Linked DNA regions of Homo sapiens: region 1 is linked to region 2. Evidence: promoter capture Hi-C in 16 types of primary human blood cells and fetal thymus (Javierre and others, 2016). All regions are on one chromosome and are shown on one strand. The core of a region is centred on a gene start or on the middle of the fragment in contact, and the rest is flanking DNA. Distances in the headings are between cores, read along the strand shown. Region 1 overlaps MRPS27 (mitochondrial ribosomal protein S27). Region 2 holds the start of COX7C (cytochrome c oxidase subunit 7C).

Region 1 (3,762 bases), core at 1-2,500, about 14 Mb after region 2:
TGATGAATTACCACAAAGCGAGTAAACCTGTGTAGGAAGCAAGAGCATTCCTACCGCTCCAGAAGCCCTTATTGCGGCCCCCACTTAGTCTCTCCAAAGGTAACCGGTATCCTGACTTCTAACGCCACAGATTTTTTTTTTTTAGTGTTTTAACATTTGAAGGTGTAGACACCTTGGTATAAGGAGCCCCCTTTACCCATCACCTGGCTTCAACAATTATCAGCTCTTAGTCTTTATTTTATCTTTATTACTGTTTCCCCATCCCGATGCTTTGGATAATTTTGAAGGAGATCCCAGGCAGTAAGTCATTTCATCCGTAAATATTTTGATACAGATCTCCAAAAGACAAGGGTGCTTTTCAATACCATTATCACACCTAAAATATTAATAGGGTTGTAAATATCACGAAATATCCAGTTAGTGTTCAGATATCCCTGATACTCTCTTTCTTATTTTATTTTATTTTCTTAGAGCCTTGCTCTTGTCGCCCAGGTTGGAGTGCAATGGCACGATCTCAGCTCGCTTAAACCTCCTCCTCCCAGGTTCAAGCGATTCTCCTGCCTCAGCCTCCCGAGAAGCTGGGATTACAGGCGCCCGCCACCATGCCCGGCTAATTTTTGTATTTTTAGCAGAGATGGGGTCTTGCCTTTTTGGTCATGCTGGTCTCGAACTCGTGACCTCGTGATCCGCCCACCTCGGCCTCCCCAAGTGCTGGGATTACAGGCGTGAGCCACCGCTCCTGGCTCAGGTATCCCTGATACTCTCAAATTTTTTTTTTTATGATTTGGTTGAATCAGGATTCAAATAAAGCCTCGTATAATACAATTGGTTGCTATGTGCCCCCGTTAACTCTTTCTGAATCTTTTTAATAGAAACATACAGAAGTAGAGAGAGTAGAATAAACCCCTGTGTACTGTCACCCAGCTCCAGCAATTATCAATTCCCTACCAGTGTTGTTTCATCAACTCCCCACCTGTTCACCAGATTACTTTTTAACAAACTTAATTATCGGGGTTTTTTTATATGTACTTTGATATGTACCTCTAAAAGATAAGGATTTTTAAAAACGTAATTAATCATACTATTCTAAAAAACTAGTACTTCTGTAATATTAAATATTCCATTAATGTTCACATTTTCCCAAATGTCTTATAAATTTCTTTTTAATTTAGTTTGTTGAAATGTGATCTAGATAAGGTCCATACCTTGCAATGTGTTGAGTTGTCTCAACTATCTTAGTTTGTAAGTTTTTTGCAATTTATTTATTGAACAAAACAGGTCTTTTTTGGAGTTTCCCACATTCTAGATTTGCTGATTTCATCCTTATTGTGGTGTTTAGCGTGCTCCTCTGCCTTCCATATGTCTTGTGAAACTGGTAGTTGGAGAAAGGGGCTTGATCAGATTCAGGACTTTTTATTTTGTCTTTTGGTATAAATACTTCATAGTAAGTGTTTACTTGTGTCAGTAAGCACACAGCATTTGATTGCCCCTCTGCGAAGTTAAAGGCCATTCATGATCTTTACTTAGATTTGTTATTTCATTTGAAGCTGCATACTATTGCTGTTTAAATTTTATCATTTCTTTTCATTTATTATCTAGGAAATTTTTATGACAGAACTTCCATTCATCAACAGTTTACTTACCCTGAAATAGTTTGTATATGAGTTAGCTTTCAAAATAACTTGCAAAAATGATGAATGAGGACTTCTTAAAATGTCATTAAGAACTCATAGATTTAAATAATTGAGACATTTTAATCCATTGCTGTTGATACTTTTATTGATAGGGCCATAGTTCAACTGTGCTCTGTAGAGCCCTGGGCTTTCCTACTTCAATCAGATTTCAACTTTTGATTGTTTCTGTACTGGGCTTCCCTTTGGCTAAAATAAACACTGAGTTAAAGCATTGTCTCTGGAATTCCTCCACTAACTTGCTGATTTGTTGGGGAGGTACAGGGTAAAAGTTATCAACATTTACTAGTTAACAGAATAGGATCCACTGTGAACAGGACTCAGGAGAAAACCACTGGGGAACTGGGTAGGGTGTTGGTAGGAGGGCAGGCCTCATGGGGAAGCTCCTTGAGTTCCATGAGAGGAAGTTTTCTTGAGTCTTTCTGACAAGGAGCGAGCACTCAGGTGACTTGAGCTGAATTCAGGATTCATGAGCCCTACTGGATTAAATATTTTATTTGTGATTTTTCACATCACAAAGTATAGGACACATTTTGGTTTGGGTTACTGTTTTGCTTGTTTGTGTTGGTTTCTCTTGGTTTGTTGGTTTGTTTTCTGTTGGTTTGTTTTTGGAGAACCTCCTTTTTGAATCCAAAGAGTATTTCCTTGACACATTTGCATTCAGGTCTGTCTCTTACAGACACTTCTTCCATTTTAGCTGAGATTTAGTTTTGCTGTGTCATTTCAGCTGTAGAGGCCTTTGGCTTTTTGCATGAATATTTCAGATCCTGCTCTTGAGGCCTGATGGAGATTTTCTGAAGTCTGCTTTCTTAACTTTTGTCAGTTCTGTATTTGCATCTCTGTGGCATCTATTCATTTTCCAGTTTCCATATTTGCCAAGTTCTAGAGATGGGTCTGACTTGTGCACATCACCGTTCTTTAGTCTCATTAATATATATGTACACAAAGCTTGATTTCATGTTTTTCCTTTATTGGATTTATTTATGTTAAAGCTTCTGGTGACAGACAAATAGAAGGAAGTCTAAAAATCTATGTCCAAATTGGTTGCTAGGCTAGTTTTCCATACTTCCTTCTGTATATTCAATGCATGATATATGTCATGTGTCCTCGTTTTTCTTTTAAAATGTGGGAAACAAAAACAGTTTCAGCCTGTATTTTTCAAGATCAGTTCTTCTAGGAAGGACAATAATAATCTGTACCTGTTTCTTTATTATATAAATTAGGTAAGGTATGCAGATGACCATAAGCCCAGAAAGAGTTTAGTGTTGCCTGAAAGGTTAACAGTAATGTGCAGTTATGTAGAAAAGAAAAACTGAAACCATTTCTCACCTGAAGCTAGAAGGATTCAATAAAGGATTCATATTTTTCTTCAGTGACCTTCATTATCACAACTTTGCCCCAGAGACCACACTCTTTTTTAAGAGGCTTGTTTTTCAACACATCTGTACTACAGATTTTGTGGTTATGTACTGTGAAGCTGTGTTACTTTGGTGTGCACCAGGTTAAAATTATCTTGGCAAAATGAATTTTTGGTCATTATGTAGTGACCCACATAATCTATAAAACTGCTTTTTGCCTGTAATCTATTGTGTCTGATATTAATACAACTGTACCAGCTTTATTTTGGCTTCCTAGTGTGTTTTTAATAATTTTCAACTCTTCTGTGTTTATATGATTTATATAGCTAGCTTTTATATTTTTAACCAATCTGACAATCATTATCTTTTAACTAGAAAATTTCGTCTATTTACATTATCATTTCATGATTACCAATATAATTGGATTTATTTCTGTCACATTTTGTGATTGGTTTCATCTTTCTTTTTTTTCTTTATTTTTTATTTTTGGATTGATTTTTACTTTTGGATTGTTTTTGTTTTTTACGTTTTTTTCCCCTCCACTGGTCTGGAGATTATATCCTCTACTTTTTTAGAGATTGTTGCCCTTTAACTTCTAAAATGCATATCTAGCTTAAATTGTAATGCTCATCACACTCTACTATCCTTTAGGACACCTTAGGTCCACACACACACATCTAACCATATGCTCTTGTCTAATAATAAAGTTTTAT
Region 2 (3,921 bases), core at 910-3,409:
TATCTGGGACTTATGTATCAAGGAGCACTAGAAGGGTTTTATCTTCAGGGATTTTTCACAACTTAAACAAGTATTGTAAGCCAATTTAAAAACTAGGAGCACAGTGACCACTTTCTAAAAGAAATGGAAATGTTTATAGTGTTTTAAAAGACACATTCTCAGCTACTGTTCTAGTAACAGTGTTCAAGATAGAGTAACATTAATCAGTTTATCAGTTTTACCTGGTTAAAAGTGTGAGTTCTGCAACAAGAAACTGCCTGGGCAAGAGTCCTGGTCCACCATTATACTAGTTATGAGATGTTGAACAACTTAACATCTCTGTGTCTCAGATGGGGTTACTATCATCCGCCTCACAAGCTTGCTAGAGAACATGAGATATCGATGTAAAGTGTACCTGATAAGCAGTAGTATTCAATAAACACTGGCCATTATTGAAATATTTTTATATAGGTTTACAACTAGTCTCCACCAATGCCACATCTACACATAACCTCAGGAATCAGCCCTACACAACAATGTATTTGTGTGTGTGTTCTGGGTGATGGGGAAGAGGCTACTTAATAAAAAGGCCTGCTTTAACATGATTAGAAATCCACTAACTACCTGTTAAATGGAGGAACTGAAACATCCTTATGTTTTAAGCAGTTGGTGTCTTACTACAAGGAAGGGTGTAGCAAATGCAGATCCAAAGTACAAACACATCTTAGCTAGTAACGACCACTTGTTTTCCACTGAAAATGGCAAATTCTGTTGGAAAAAAAGAGAAAAAGTAATCGAAATTGAATCTCAAATCATCTGCTTAATAATCAAAATACAAGTATACAGGAAATGCTAGTTATATTTTACATCATCAGGTTAACATATGCCATAAATCATAACATCGTTTTAAACATTTATCTTTCAAATCCTATGACCTTCATCACAAAACACTACATGGCAAGAAATAATCTGGCTTTACTAAGCACTAGGCAATGAATGGTCTTGAGGACTCAAACGTCAAATAGTGAGAAGTTTCTTACTTTAGAAAATCGAAAAAACTACTGTCCTAAGTAGTCACCTTAGAAGATACATGGCAATGTTAAGTGCAATACAGCTCTTTTTTTTTCTTTTTTTTTTTTTTTGAGACGGAGTCCCGCTCTGTCCAGGCTGGAGTGCAGTGGCCCGATCTCGGCTCACTGCAACCTCCACCTCCCGGGTTCAAGCGATTCTCCTGCCTCAGCCTCCCGAGTAGCTGGGATTAGAGGCACACACCACCACGTCCGGCTAATTTTTTTGTACTTTTTAGTAGAGACAGGGTTTCGCCATGTTGGCCAGGCTGGTCTGGAACTCCTGACCTCAGGTGATCCGAACGCCTTAGCCTCCCGATTACAGGCGTGCGCCACCGCACCTGGCCCACAGTTTTTTTTGTTTGTTTGTTTTTCATTACCAAGCACCTTCTCTGGCCTTTATGACTAGGCCTCGTGTGACCCTCCGAGATTGTTACTGCTATGTGGTTTAAGTTATTTACACCTGAGGCCAAACCCAGCCTTAACTGAGGTGAAGGGTTAGTACTTCTAACTTAGGCAGCTAGTTTAAAAAGCCTGTTCCATAACCAGAGGCCCTGATTTCCTCATGATTTTCCAATGACCTTCATTTCGGGTCCGATGACCTCCAGCTCGGATTTAACCAACACACCTACAGCCGTGGCCTCCCGGAGCCATCTCAGGGCTTTCTGCGGGGCGGGGGAGGGGGCGTCAGGTGGCTGATGGAGGCAGGGCTTCCGGATCTACCTGCCCATTCCTTTAGCGGCTACGCGCTAGGATGCCCAGCTTCCTCACTGGTCCTTGGGCTAAGTGGAATGCTAGTCTGCGTCTCAGCCTGGTTTCTGGCTATCATCTCCCACGCCACAGCCCGGAGGCGGCCTTGCAGGTGCGCGAGTCACAGCCAAGCGCCCCCTCCCCCAACGAAGCCGTGCCCCTTACACACTAACCTTCCCAGGGCCCTCCTCATAGTGGCTCCTACGGACCACAGAGGTTGTGAACCTCCGGATGCTCTGGCCCAACATACCGCTGCTGGAAGCTCTGCGAAAGGCGCAGAGAATGAGGACAGATGAAATGGCGGCACCTCACCAAGACCTTTTTTTTCACGACCTTGTTCCCCGGTGCGCAAGGACTGAAAAGAAAGATGGGAAATGGGGCGGAGCCTTGAGGAAACGCGACAAAGCGGAAATCGCCCTGGATTGTGGGAATTGTAGTTCAGACCATTGCGGAGCCTTATCAGCCCCCGAAGGATTGTGGGAAATGTAGTTTCGCGCCAGGCTTAGGTCTAGGATTCCTGGGGCCTGTTACCGGAAACGATTTTATTGAATCAAGTGAAGCAGTTTCACCCCGTATACTCTAGTCTGTTGAAAAGGACAATAAACCCATCCCTTTTCTCTTCTTTCTTTCTTTTTTAAAAATAAAGTATATGCTAGGTGTCAATGATTTCGAGGACTTTTGCCAATGCTGAGAGATATGTGCTAATGATCCTAGCTGAAGAAACAAAGCATAAACACAAGTAATCAAACAACGTGCAGCACAAAGGACTTCAGAGAGAAAACTGAAATGCTAAGGGAATGATCACTAAAGATAATGGGAATCGAATAAAAAAGAAGGAAGAACAAAGGGCAGGGAAAACTCAAGTCTGGTATGAGTACAGCATGTGTGAGGAGTAGAAGGGAAAAGTGGCCTCTGACACCTGGAGCTAGCCTGGACTAGGAACTGGTGTCCGCCTGATGAACGTACACAATTTCAGCAAGCATTAGCATCCAACAAGACCACTCTGACAGTGTTCATTAAGAAAAGAATATGATCACTGTGTAATCACATCTGAACACAGATAAAACATTGTCCAAGCCACGAAAATGACCGGACATCACCCTATCTGGTTTAATTTGATGACTTCTGCTTCTTTACCAATTACAATCTTAGCCTTGATCTAGCCTTTCTTCCTCCTAAGATTTGGTAAGGTAGCCAATATTAGGAGAAAAAAATCCCAAATCCAATAAGCATTTTCTAATATTTTACAGAGAACCCTTACTGCAATGAATAATAAACCCCGTTTGTCAATTACATGTGTGCTTCTGGTGGTCTTTGACCAGAAGGTATTGAGAAGAAACCAGTGATAAATGAACCTGGGAAAGTGGTGTTAGGTTAGATTGTGAAAGGCCCTGGTAACCTAAATGTTATGTTATTCATCTGTGGGGGAGTGTATATTGCCTCACGTGTCTCATTTATATAGCATTAGGAAACAATTCCAATAAGACCTAAGGTTTGCTTTGAAAAGGGCATAACATATATGCTCTTTTCGTCTTTTTTTTTTTTTTTTTTTTCAGTTTTTGGAAGAGAACAACCATGCCCCTCCCCCCCAAAAAAACACTTAAAAAAAACACTTAAATTCATATTTTGTTTCAACAAGTAGCTTCTTTTTGAGTAGGGGTTCATGAAATGCATCATAACTGGTGTCCTCTACCACCTAATTTATAGAAGTTATGTGACATTCCATTTTTTTTTAACATTCCGTTCACTGCCTTTACATATTAAAGAATTCTGATTTAACTATAATTGAGAAACTTTTTCACACTTAATATTTCTAGATTACACTTTTCAATCTAGTGTGAGTAATGTTATCTGTGGATTTGGTTCATTGTTGCTTCTAATTCACATTAATTGAGCCTCCATTGGGTATCTGGCTTTGAGTTAACTCTTTAGGGACCTGCAGGGCAGAGATTCCAGAATATGGTTTCAGAACTGTCTGCCTTCTCATGGGCTTTGTGGTAAGTTAAATACAAAAAAAAAAAATATGTTTGGCCGGGCGCGGTGGCTCACGCCTGTAATCCCAGCACTTTGGGAGGCCAAGGCAGGCGGATCACGAGGTCAGGAGATTGAGACCATCCTGGCTAAC

The links. Contacts are between HindIII fragments. The CHiCAGO score rates a contact against its expected background, and 5 or more counts as called.
Region 1: a contact is called between a fragment that was not itself captured here and the fragment with the promoter of COX7C in region 2, in 2 of 17 cell types (naive CD8 T cells and activated CD4 T cells). The highest score is 8.5, in naive CD8 T cells.

The regions. Positions count from the first base shown.
Region 1 is chr5:72,304,055-72,307,816 of GRCh38, reverse strand. All of the region lies in intron 2 of MRPS27 (mitochondrial ribosomal protein S27), which reads left to right. Among named protein-coding and RNA genes, the nearest start is that of MRPS27, 14 kb to the left of the region's middle. The HindIII fragment of the contact is 2,782 bases long and covers 1-2,641 here.
Region 2 is chr5:86,616,179-86,620,099 of GRCh38, reverse strand. It overlaps COX7C (cytochrome c oxidase subunit 7C), which reads right to left and starts at 2,159. Exons shown (of 3, transcript NM_001867.3): 1 at 1,970-2,159; 2 at 604-747. The coding sequence starts at 2,044. The coding sequence ends at 631. RefSeq lists enhancers at 1,069-1,734, 2,032-2,121, 2,054-2,348, 1,735-2,400, 2,412-2,491. The HindIII fragment of the contact is 5,230 bases long and covers 360-3,921 here.